Regions from separate parts of the Homo sapiens genome. Here region 1 is linked to region 2. The links are contacts of gene promoters, found by promoter capture Hi-C in human tissues and cell types (Jung and others, 2019). All regions are on one chromosome and are shown on one strand. Each heading gives the region's core, a stretch centred on a gene start or on the middle of the fragment in contact. The rest is flanking DNA. Distances are from core to core; before and after follow the strand shown.

Evidence for each region. Contacts are between HindIII fragments. The study calls those that stand out against the background at their distance.
Region 1: a fragment that was not itself captured here is called in contact with the fragment with the promoter of OTUD7A in region 2 in 5 of the 25 tissues and cell types used here (H1 embryonic stem cells, IMR-90 fibroblasts, dorsolateral prefrontal cortex and 2 more).

Annotation. Positions count from the first base shown.
Region 1 is chr15:31,597,921-31,603,018 of GRCh38, reverse strand. The region is part of intron 3 of OTUD7A (OTU deubiquitinase 7A); the gene reads left to right. Among named protein-coding and RNA genes, the nearest start is that of OTUD7A, 270 kb to the left of the region's middle. The HindIII fragment of the contact is 5,253 bases long and covers 1-4,677 here.
Region 2 is chr15:31,867,736-31,872,605 of GRCh38, reverse strand. It overlaps OTUD7A (OTU deubiquitinase 7A), which reads left to right and starts at 1,933. Exons shown (of 13, transcript NM_001382637.1): 1 at 1,933-2,099. RefSeq lists silencers at 1,901-1,970, 4,466-4,760. The HindIII fragment of the contact is 13,679 bases long and covers 1-4,870 here.

The sequences.
Region 1 (5,098 bases), core at 802-3,301, 270 kb after region 2:
GGGCAGTATGGCCATTTTCATGATATTGTTTCTTCCTATCCATGAGCATGGAATGTTTTTCCATTTATTTGTGTCCTCTCTTATTACCTTGAGCAGTGGTTTGTACTTCTCCTTGAAGAGGTCCTTCACATCCCTTGTAAGTTGTGTTACTAGATATTTTATTCCCTTAGTAGCAATTGTGAATGGGAGTTCACTCATGATTTGGCTATTATTGGTGTATAGGAATGCTTGTGATTTTTGCACATTGATTTTGTATCCCGAGATTTCGCTGAAGTTACTTATCAGCTTAAGGAGATTTAGGGCTGAAATGGTGGGGTTTTCTAAATATACAATCATGTTATCTACAAACAGAGACAATTTGACTTCCTCTTTTCCTATTTGAATACCCTTTATTTCTTTCTCTTGCCTGATTACCCTGGCTAGAACTTCCAATACTATGTTGAATAGGAATGGTGAAGAGGGCATCCTTGTCTTGTGCTGGTTTTCAAAGGGAATGCTTCCAGTTTTTGCCCATTCAGTATGATGTTAGCTCTGGGTTTGTCATAAATAGCTCTTAATATTTTGAGATATGTTCCATTGATACCTAGTTTATTGAGAGTTTTTACCATGAAGGGGTGTTGAATTTTGTCGAAGGCCTTTTCTGCATCCATTGAGATAATCATGTGGTTTTTGTCATTGGTTCTGTTTATGTGATGCATTACATTTCTTGATTTGCGTATGTTGAACCAGCCTTGCATCCCAGGGATGAAGCCCACTTGATCATGGTGGATAAGCTTTTTGATGTGCTGCTGGATTCGGTTTGCCAGTATTTTATTGAGGATTTTTTCATTGATGTTCATCAGAGATATTGCCCTGAAATTTTCTTTTTTTGTTGTGTCTTTGCCAGGTTTTGGTATCAGGATGATGCTGGCCTCATAAAATGAGTTAGAGAGGACTCTCTCTTTTTCTATTGATTGGAATAGTTTCAGAAGGAATGGTACCAGCTCCTCTTTGTACCTTTGGTAGAATTCGGCTGTGAATCTATCTGTTCCTGGACTTTTTTTGGTTGGTAGGCTATTAATTACTGCCTCAATTTCAGAACTTGTTATTGGTCTATTCAGGGATTTGACTTCTTCCTGGCTTAGACTTGGGAGGGTGTATATGTCCAGGAATTTATCCGTTTCTTCTAGATTTTCTACTTTATTTGCATAGGAGTGTTTATAGTATTCTCTGGTAGTTTGTATTTCTGTGGGATCAGTGGTGATATCCCCTTTATCATTTTCCATTGTGTGTATTTGAGTCTTCTCTCTTTTCTTCTTTATTAGTCTGGCTAGCGGTCTATTTTGTTGATCTTTTCAAAAAACTAGCTCCTGGATTCATTGATTTTTTTTAAAGGGTTTTTTGTGTCTCTATCTCCTTCAGTTCTGCTCTGATCTTAGTTTTTTCTTGTCTTCTGCTAGCTTTTGAATTTGTTTGCTCTTACTTCTCTAGTTCTTTTAATTGTGATGTTAGGGTGTCGATTTTAGATCTTTCCTGCTTTCTCTTGTGGGCATTTAGTGCTATAAATTTCCCTCTACACACTGCATTAAATGTGTCCCAGAGATTCTGGTACGTTGCGTCTGTTCTCATTGGTTTCAAAGGACATCTTTATGTCTGCCTTCATTTCATTATTTACCCAGGAGTCATTCAGGAGCAGGTTGTTCAGTTTCCATGTTGTTGTGCAGTTTTGGGTGAGTTTCTTAATCCTGAGTTCTAATTTGATTGCACTGTAGTATGAGAGACTGTTTGTTATGATTTCCATTGTTTTGCATTTGCTGAGGAGTGTTTTACTTCCAATTATGTGGTCAGTTTTAGAAAAAGTGCGATGTGGTGCCGAGAAGAATGTATATTCTGTCGATTTGGGGTGGAGAGTTCTGTATGTGTCTATTAGGTCTGCTTGGTCCGGAGCTGAGTTCAAGTCCTGAATGTCCTTGTTAATTTTCTGTCTCAGTGATCTGTCTAATATTGGCAGTGGGTTGTTAAGGTCTCCCACTGTTATTGTGTGGGAGTCTGAGTCTCTTTGTAGGTCTCTAAGAACTTGCTTTGTGAATCTGAGTGCTCCTGTATTAGGTGCATATATATTTAGGATAGTTAGCTCTTCTTGTTGCCTTGATCACTTTACCACTATGTAATGCCCTTCTTTGTCTCTTTTGATCTTTGTTGGTTTAAAGTCTGTTTTATCAGAGACTAGGATTGCAACCCCTGCTTTTTTTTGCTTTCCATTTGTTGATAAATATTCCTCCATCCCTTTATTTTGAGTCTGTGTGTGTCTTTGCATGTGAGATGGGTCTTCTGAATACAGCACACTGATGGGTCTTGACTCTTTATCCAATTTGCCAGCCTGTGTCTTTTAATTAGGGCATTTAGCCCATTTACATTTAAAGTTCATATTGTTATGTGTGAATTTGATCCTGTCATTATGATGCTAGCTGGTTATTTTGCTCGTTGGTTGCTGCAGTTTCTTCATAGTGTTGATGGTCTTTACAATTTGGTATGTTTTTGCAGTGGCTGGTACCGGCTGTTCCTTTCCATGTTTAGTGCTTCCTTCAGGAGCTCTTGTAAGGCAGGCCTGGTGGTCACAAAATCTCTCAGCATTTGCCTGTCTGTAAAGGATTTTATTTCTCCTTCACTTATGAAGCTTAGTTGGGCTGGATATGAAATTCTGGGTTGTGTTGAGTAGGGTTTCTGCAGAAAGATCCACTGTTAGTCTGATGGGCTTCCCTTTGTGGGTAACCTGGCCTTTCTCTCTGGCTGCCCTTAACAGTTTTTCCTGCATTTCAACCTTGGTGAATCTGACGATTATGTATCTTGGGATTATGTGTCTTGGGGATGCTCTTCTCGAGGAGTATCTTTGTGGTGTTCTCTGTATTTCCTGAATTTGAATGTTGGCCTGCCTTGCTAGGTTGGGGAAGTTCTCCTAGATAATATCCTGAAGAGTGTTTTCCATCTTGGTTCCATTCTCCCCATCACTTTCAGGTATATCAGTCAAATGTAGATTTGGTCTTTTCACATAACCCCATATTTCTTGGAGGCTTTGTTCATTCCTTTTCATTCTTTTTTCTCTAATCCTGTCTTCTTGCTTTATTTCATTAATTTGATCTTCAATCTCTGATATCCTTTCTTCCGCTTGATCGACTCGGCTATTGATATTTGTGTATGCTTCACGAAGTTCTTGTGCTGTGTTTTTCAACTCCATCAGGTCATTTATGTTCTTCTCTAAACCAGTTATTCTAGTTAGCAATTCGTCTAACCTTTTTTCAAGGTTCTTAGCTTCCTTGCATTGGGTTAGAATATGTTCCTTTAGCTCAGAGGGGTTTGTTATTACCCACTTTCTGAAGCCTACCTCTGTCAATTTGCCAAACTCATTCTCTGTCCAGTTTTGTTCCCTTGCTGGCGAGGAGTTGTGATCCTTTGGAGGAGAAGAGGCGTTCTGGTTTTTGGAATTTTCAGCCTTTTTGCGCTGGTTTCTCCCCATCTTCATGGATTTATCTACCTTTGGTCTTTGATGTTGGTGACCTTTGGATGGGATCTCTGAGTGAATGTGCTATTCCTTTCTGTTTGTTAGTTTTCCTTCTGACAGTCAGGCCCCTCTGCTGCAGGCCTGCTGGAGTTTGCTGGAGGTCCACTCCAGACCCTGTTTGCCTGGGTATTACCAGCAGAGGCTGCAGAATAGCAAAGATTGCTGCCTGTTCTTTCCTTTGGAAGCTTCCTCCCAGAGGGGCATCCACCAGATGCCAGCCAGAGCTCTCCTGTATGAGGTGTCTGTTGGCCCCTCCTGGGAGGTGTCTCCCAGTCAGGATACACAGGGGTCAGGGACCCACTTGAAGAGGCAGTCTGACCCTTAGCAGAACTCAAACGCTGTGCTGGGAGGTCCACTGCTCTCTTCAGAGCCGTCAGGCAGGGATATTTAAGTCTGCTGAAGCTGCGCCCACAGCCACCCCTTCCCCCAGGTGCTCTGTCCCAGGGAGATGGGAGTTTTATCTATAAGTCCCTGACTGGGGCTGCTGCCTTTTTTTTTAGAGATGCCCTGCCCAGAGAGGAGGAGTCCAGAGGCAGTCTGGCCACGGCGGCCTTGCTGAGCTGTGATGGGCTCCACCCAGTTCGAACTTCCCTGCGGCTTTGTTTACACTGTGAGGGTAAAACCACCTACTCAAGCCTCAGCAATGGCAGACGCCCCTCCCCCTACCAAGCTCAAGTGCCCCAGGTCGACCTCAGACTGCTGTGCTAGCAGCGAGAATTTCAAGCCAGTGCATCTTAGTTTGCTGGGCTCCATGGGGGTGGGACCCACTGAGCCAGACCACTTGGCTTCCTGACTTCAGCCCCATCTCCAGGAGAGTGAACTGTTCTGTCTCTCTGGTGTTCCAGGCACCACTGGGGTATGGAAAAAAAAACCTCCTGCAACTAGTTTGGTGTCTGCCTGAACGGCTGCCCAGTTTTGTGCTTGAAACCCAGGGCCCTGGTGACATAGGCACTGGAAGGAATCTCCTGGTCTGCAGGTTGCAAAGACCATGGGAAAAGTGCAGTATCTGGGCCGGAGTGTGCATAGTTCCTCAGGCTCAGTCCCTCACGGCTTCCCTTGGGTAGGGGAGAGAATTCCCCGACCCCTTGTACTTCCTGGGTGAGGCGACGCCCTGCCCTGCTTCGGCTCGCCCTCTGTGGGCTGCACCCACTGTCCAACCAGTCCCAATGAGATGAACCTGTACCTCAGTTGGAAATGCAGAAATCACCTGCCTTCTGCGTCGATCTCACTGGGAACTGCACACTGGAGTTGTTCTTATTCAACCATCTTGCCATCAATCTGAATATAGTTTTCAACTGAAATCTTAGGGCGTGCCCACATGTCAAATAGGTGGAACTTCGCTGGCTGACTGCGAGCGGAGAGCCAGAGCCTCCCCTAACCTAGGGGCAACATCACCACCACAGAACTCCCAGGCTCTCCCGGACCAGGCTCCCTTGGCCATCATATAAACCTCCAGGGCCACTCAGCCCATCTCAGCCCTGGCCACAGGGGACTGGAAACACGCTGCTCTTCCTGTCTGAAAACTCGAAAGTTCCCACTGCTTTTACTCACACCCACAGC
Region 2 (4,870 bases), core at 684-3,183:
CCAACATTCATTCATGATAAAAACTCTGCAAACTAGGAATAGAGAGAACTTCCTAATCTTGATAAAGAAGAACTAAAAAAATCCTACTGCTAACATCATATTTAGTGGTAAGAAACTGGATACTTCCCCTAAATTCAGGACAGGACTGTTAAGAGAATGAAAAGACAAGCTTCCACTGGAAGAAAATACCTGCAAAACACGTATCAGATAAAGTACTTCTATCCAAAATACACAAAGAACTCTTAAAACTCAACCATAAGAAAACAACCTTTTTTTTTTAATGGGCAAAAGATGTGAACAAACATCTCACCAAAGAAGATATACAGGTGCATATGAAAAGTTGCTCCACATAATTTTTCAGTAGAAAATTGAAAATTAACAACGATATAGCACTATATGCCTACTAGAATGTCTAAAATTATAGATGATAGACGGATGGATGGATGGATGGACAGATAGATAGATAAAGATAGCCAATATCAAGTGCTGGTGAGGATGAAGGAAAGGGATTCATATTTGCTGACAGTTATAAAAATGCTATAGCCACTCTAGAAAACTGTTTGGTTCTTATAAAGTTAAACAAATTTACCATAAGATCTAGCAATTGCACTCCTAGATATTTAGTCAACTAATTTAAAAAATTTGTCCGTACAAAACGCTGCATGCAAATGTTTATAGAATGTTTATTCACAGTCGCCAAAAACTGGAAACCACGCAAATATTCTCCAGTGGGTGACTAAACAAAATGTGGTACAAATAATGAGACTCCCCTCAACAATAAAAAGGACTATTACTATACACAATAACATGGATGAATCTCCAAGGTATAATGATGAGGGAATAAAGTCAGTTTCAAAATGTTACATATTGCGTAATTCCATGTATACGACACACTCACAAAGACAAAACCGTAGCAATGGAGAACCTATCAGTGGTTACCAAAAGTTAGGGTTGGCGGGGGCGCTGTTATAAAAGGGCAGAACTAGGGAGCTCTTTATTGCGCTAGTGGTTACATGAATCCAAACAAGGGTTCAAGATCACAGGATTATATATCAAATAACCAATTTTACTGAATATCAATTTTAAAAGTCAAATAAATTATTAAACACTATTAAACATATACAATGTTTAAAGTCAAGCAAAAAGTCCTAAACTAAAAGTAAAATAATGATTGTTTAGAAGTACACCAGGATGGTATGGGTCATCTGCAATATAACGTCCTGTTTGGGATAAGGAAGCGTGACTACATCTACAGGGTGACGTGAGAAGGGCCCAGAGCAGCGAGCAGGTCTTGCCATCAGGGAGGGGAACCATCTGAAGGGGTGGCGTGAAAAAGTCTTTAGAGGAAGGCAAAAAATGGGAAAAGGTCAGAGAACCTTTTTGGGAGGTAAAAGGACCAGCTTTGGATTAGGCGTGATGCACAGGCCCCAGCGCAGGGCGTAGAAACTGCAGCCTGGACAGCCTGGGTGGGAGAAAGTTTGGGATGTTTAGGAAGGAAGGGTGCGCCAGCCAGGGGGAAGAAACGAGACAGGTGGCCGCAGATGGCGCGAGTCAGGCAGCAGGAAAAGGCAGGCTGTTTAAGCAGCCTTTTCCTGCAGTCCAGGCGGAGAGCGCAGAAGGAGCACCCCGAGGGGCAAGCATGGGAGAGCCGGAGCGGGCTCGCGGGCGCGCGGGCGCTGTACGTCCCCTCCTCGGCTCGCGGCCGCGAGCACGCGCTCTCCGTGCCCGGCCCCGGAGGGGCGGGGGCGGGGCACAGGCGCGGCGCGCGCACGTCCGCGCGGGGCGGGGGCGGGGCGCGAACGCGACCGGTGACGTCAGAGGAGGGCGCGCGCCCGGAGGCAGCAGGCGGAGCCGGGAGGCGGGCGTTGTGCGCGGCCGCGGGCGGAGCGGAGGGGCGCGAGGGGCGGAGCGGAGCGCGGGAGGAGGCGGGGGAGGAGAGGCCACCGGGACCGCGAGCGGCAGCTGGGGAGGGGGCCGCGGAGCCCGAGCGGGAGCAAAACAGCTGATCTGGTTTTCCTTTAAAGCGAGAGAAAATGGAAGTCGGGTAGCGGCGACTGCGGCGCTGCGGGCTGGCGGAGCGGAGCGGCGCGGCGCGGCAGGTAAGACGGCGCTGGCCGCGGTGCTGCCGGCGGGCGGCGGGGCCGGGCCCGCGGACCAGGCAGGTGCGCTCTCCGGGCGCGGGGCCGGCGCCGTCTCCTTCCCGAGCTCCGTGGCGAGGCAGGTGGGCGTTGAGGCCGGGCGACCGCGGGGCCGGGGCGCGGGGACGCGGGGGGCGCGGGCCCCGGCTGGGCTCGCCGGCGCGTCTGCATTGCGGGCTCCGCTCCGGACCCCGCGGGCTCCCGGGCCACCGGCTCCGGCCCGGCGTGGCGCGCCTCTCTCGGGCAGGGCGCGGCGCTACCGCTGGGTCGGGGCTGCTGCCTCCGCTCAGCCCTTTGGCTGTCCGCACTGGAACGTGATGCCAGGCGTGGGGCGACCGACCCCTCGGTCCGTGCGCGCGCGTCGGGGGTCCCGCGGCTCTTGCAGACGGCCGGGCAGGGCCCGGCCCCGAGCCGCGCGCGAGGCCGCTCGCCGGGCACCGGAGCTGTGACTGCGTGGGTCCCCGCGGCCCGGCGCACCGCCGTCCCGCTCGCTCTGCTGGGTCTCGCTGGACAGCAGGCAAACCATTAAGGCAATTTGGCTGTGAACCCAGAGGCCTTCCCTAGTATCTCCTCACTGGAGGGGAAAAAATTGCATCTGCGGTGCTTTAAGTGCTCCTTTAAATTTGGGAGATGTCAGTGATGTCATCATTAACTAAAACTTTCCTTCATTGGACACAACCGCTCAAGTGTACCCTCCTCCCTCCCGGTGAAGCTATTGCAGCCCTTTGAGAATCTCTGTAATAAAATGGATTTGCCTCTGCTCTGTAAACTCAGCTACCTCACACAAGTGCAAATGACTTTTATTTCTGTCTATTGGCTTGAGAATGTATAGATTTAAGAGTAGCTGAAGGGAAACTTGTGAGACCCCGATCAGGGAAACGCTTCATCCACAGCACAAGGATCCAGGGGAAAGTCATGTATGACATGCACATGGTTACCGCCAGGTGATACCTTTGTAAATGGAAGTGGGCTGTAAGAGGAACAATTTTTAAAAATATGATGAGGCAGATAATGTGTCCAGGAAAAGGTTGACAGCGGGGCCTAAATCTTTACAGGTCTTAATTGCTTCAGGAAAATCTGCAGGTGTCCTTCACCATCCTCCTCCTCCTCCTCCAGGGTGTGCCCGGAGAAGCCTGCCCTGGGCGAAGGCGGGGAGGCAGGTTCACTAGGGTCCTCCCAGCAGCCGTGTGTCCCACCAGCTTCAAAGGCCTCTTCAAGACCCAAAGAGGGTTCACGAGAACAGAGGTAGATCTGCACGGCACACTCAGTTCTGGATAAACATTCCCCACTAAATGGGATCAACACTCCATTATTTTATTGTGAGTGTGCCATTAGTACCAATTCTTATGGGAACAAAACTAAGCAAGTTCCCAAGGCAATCTGAGTATCTACTCAAGCCTATCATATCGAAAGGATATCCAATAAGGGACAAAAGTATTGACATTTTTGTATTTAATAATTAATGACACCTCCTAATTGGTTAAAATAAGCATGCCTTAAATTGTTAGTGTGATTTTATTGGATCTGTAAGGAATTTAATACCATATGCCACTCAAAAGTTGGGACCTGGTTAGGAACTTCAATCTCTTGAACCCTGTATTGGTGTGAAAAGAATGGGAAAACAGTGGTTACTTAGGCCTTTAGTGTTCAGGCTGATAATGGGTGGAAATCGCCGCTTTACGAAGTATTGCCACGTGCGGGTCTCACTTGGGCCTGGATCATAGATGGCAGGTTTTCCCTTAGAAAGTAACTCCTGAGGCCCCCAAGCTTGGTGGAGAAGGAGAGGGGACACCTTTCTCTGAGCAAGTGTGTGTAATTCTTGGCCTCTGACCTCCTGATGGTGCCGCATTTATTCCCAATGGTGTGCCTAAGTGAGATGAGAAACTGGCTCCAAGTGAGCTGCTTTTGGATGACACTGCTCCCGCTGTGTGTAGTTGCTGTAGAACTTAACTCTTGAGTTGTGGCAGAGATTCTTCTTTACAACATGTCCTCAATAGTATGAAGATTGGTTTTTCAGGGTCTGCATTGCAAACTCTTTGAAAATGGAGTCTGTGAAATCAATCTGGCCCCGTATCCATCTTTTTGTTTTCACCTGTAGACTCGTGAAAATATTCACCACGTTTATGGTTTAACTCGCTGTAGTACTAGTAAAACTTCAAACGGAAGTGTTTCCACTAAATCTTTAGGTATGGGTCACTTATTTCCCCAAAACATTTTAAAACAACCGCTTTAAAGCCTCTTCATCCCGCTTGTATGTTTAGAGTGCTTAAATTTGGGAGTTGTCAGTGATTTCCCAAAAGAGATCACTGTCACATCTTCCGTTTCTAAGAAGTAAAAATTGCCCTGATTTTCTTTCTGTTCCCTTTGGGATATTAAGGTCATTTATTCATGCCTTAGGCCCACGGAAGAAAGGTTGAATTAGCTCTTGTGGGCCAGCAGGGGGCGTGCTAAACGCGGCTTGGCGGGCCTGTGTCAGAGCCACCTTGGGAGTGGATCTCCAAGTTGAGGTGGGTGCATGTGTGTGCGCCGGTGTGCTCCGCCCCCGCCCCCCGCCCCTCCCCCTCCGCTCCCGCATGCCTGTCTTCCAAGAGATGGAAACTTAAGGAAGGGTTGGGGGCACATACTTGAATGACCAGAGGTTGTGGAGTCTGGAATGTAGGCCTCCCTAGCAGAGATTGCTTCAGTGGCTCCATGTCTTTGGAAGGTGGCTCTTAGCACACTTTGAGTCTCAG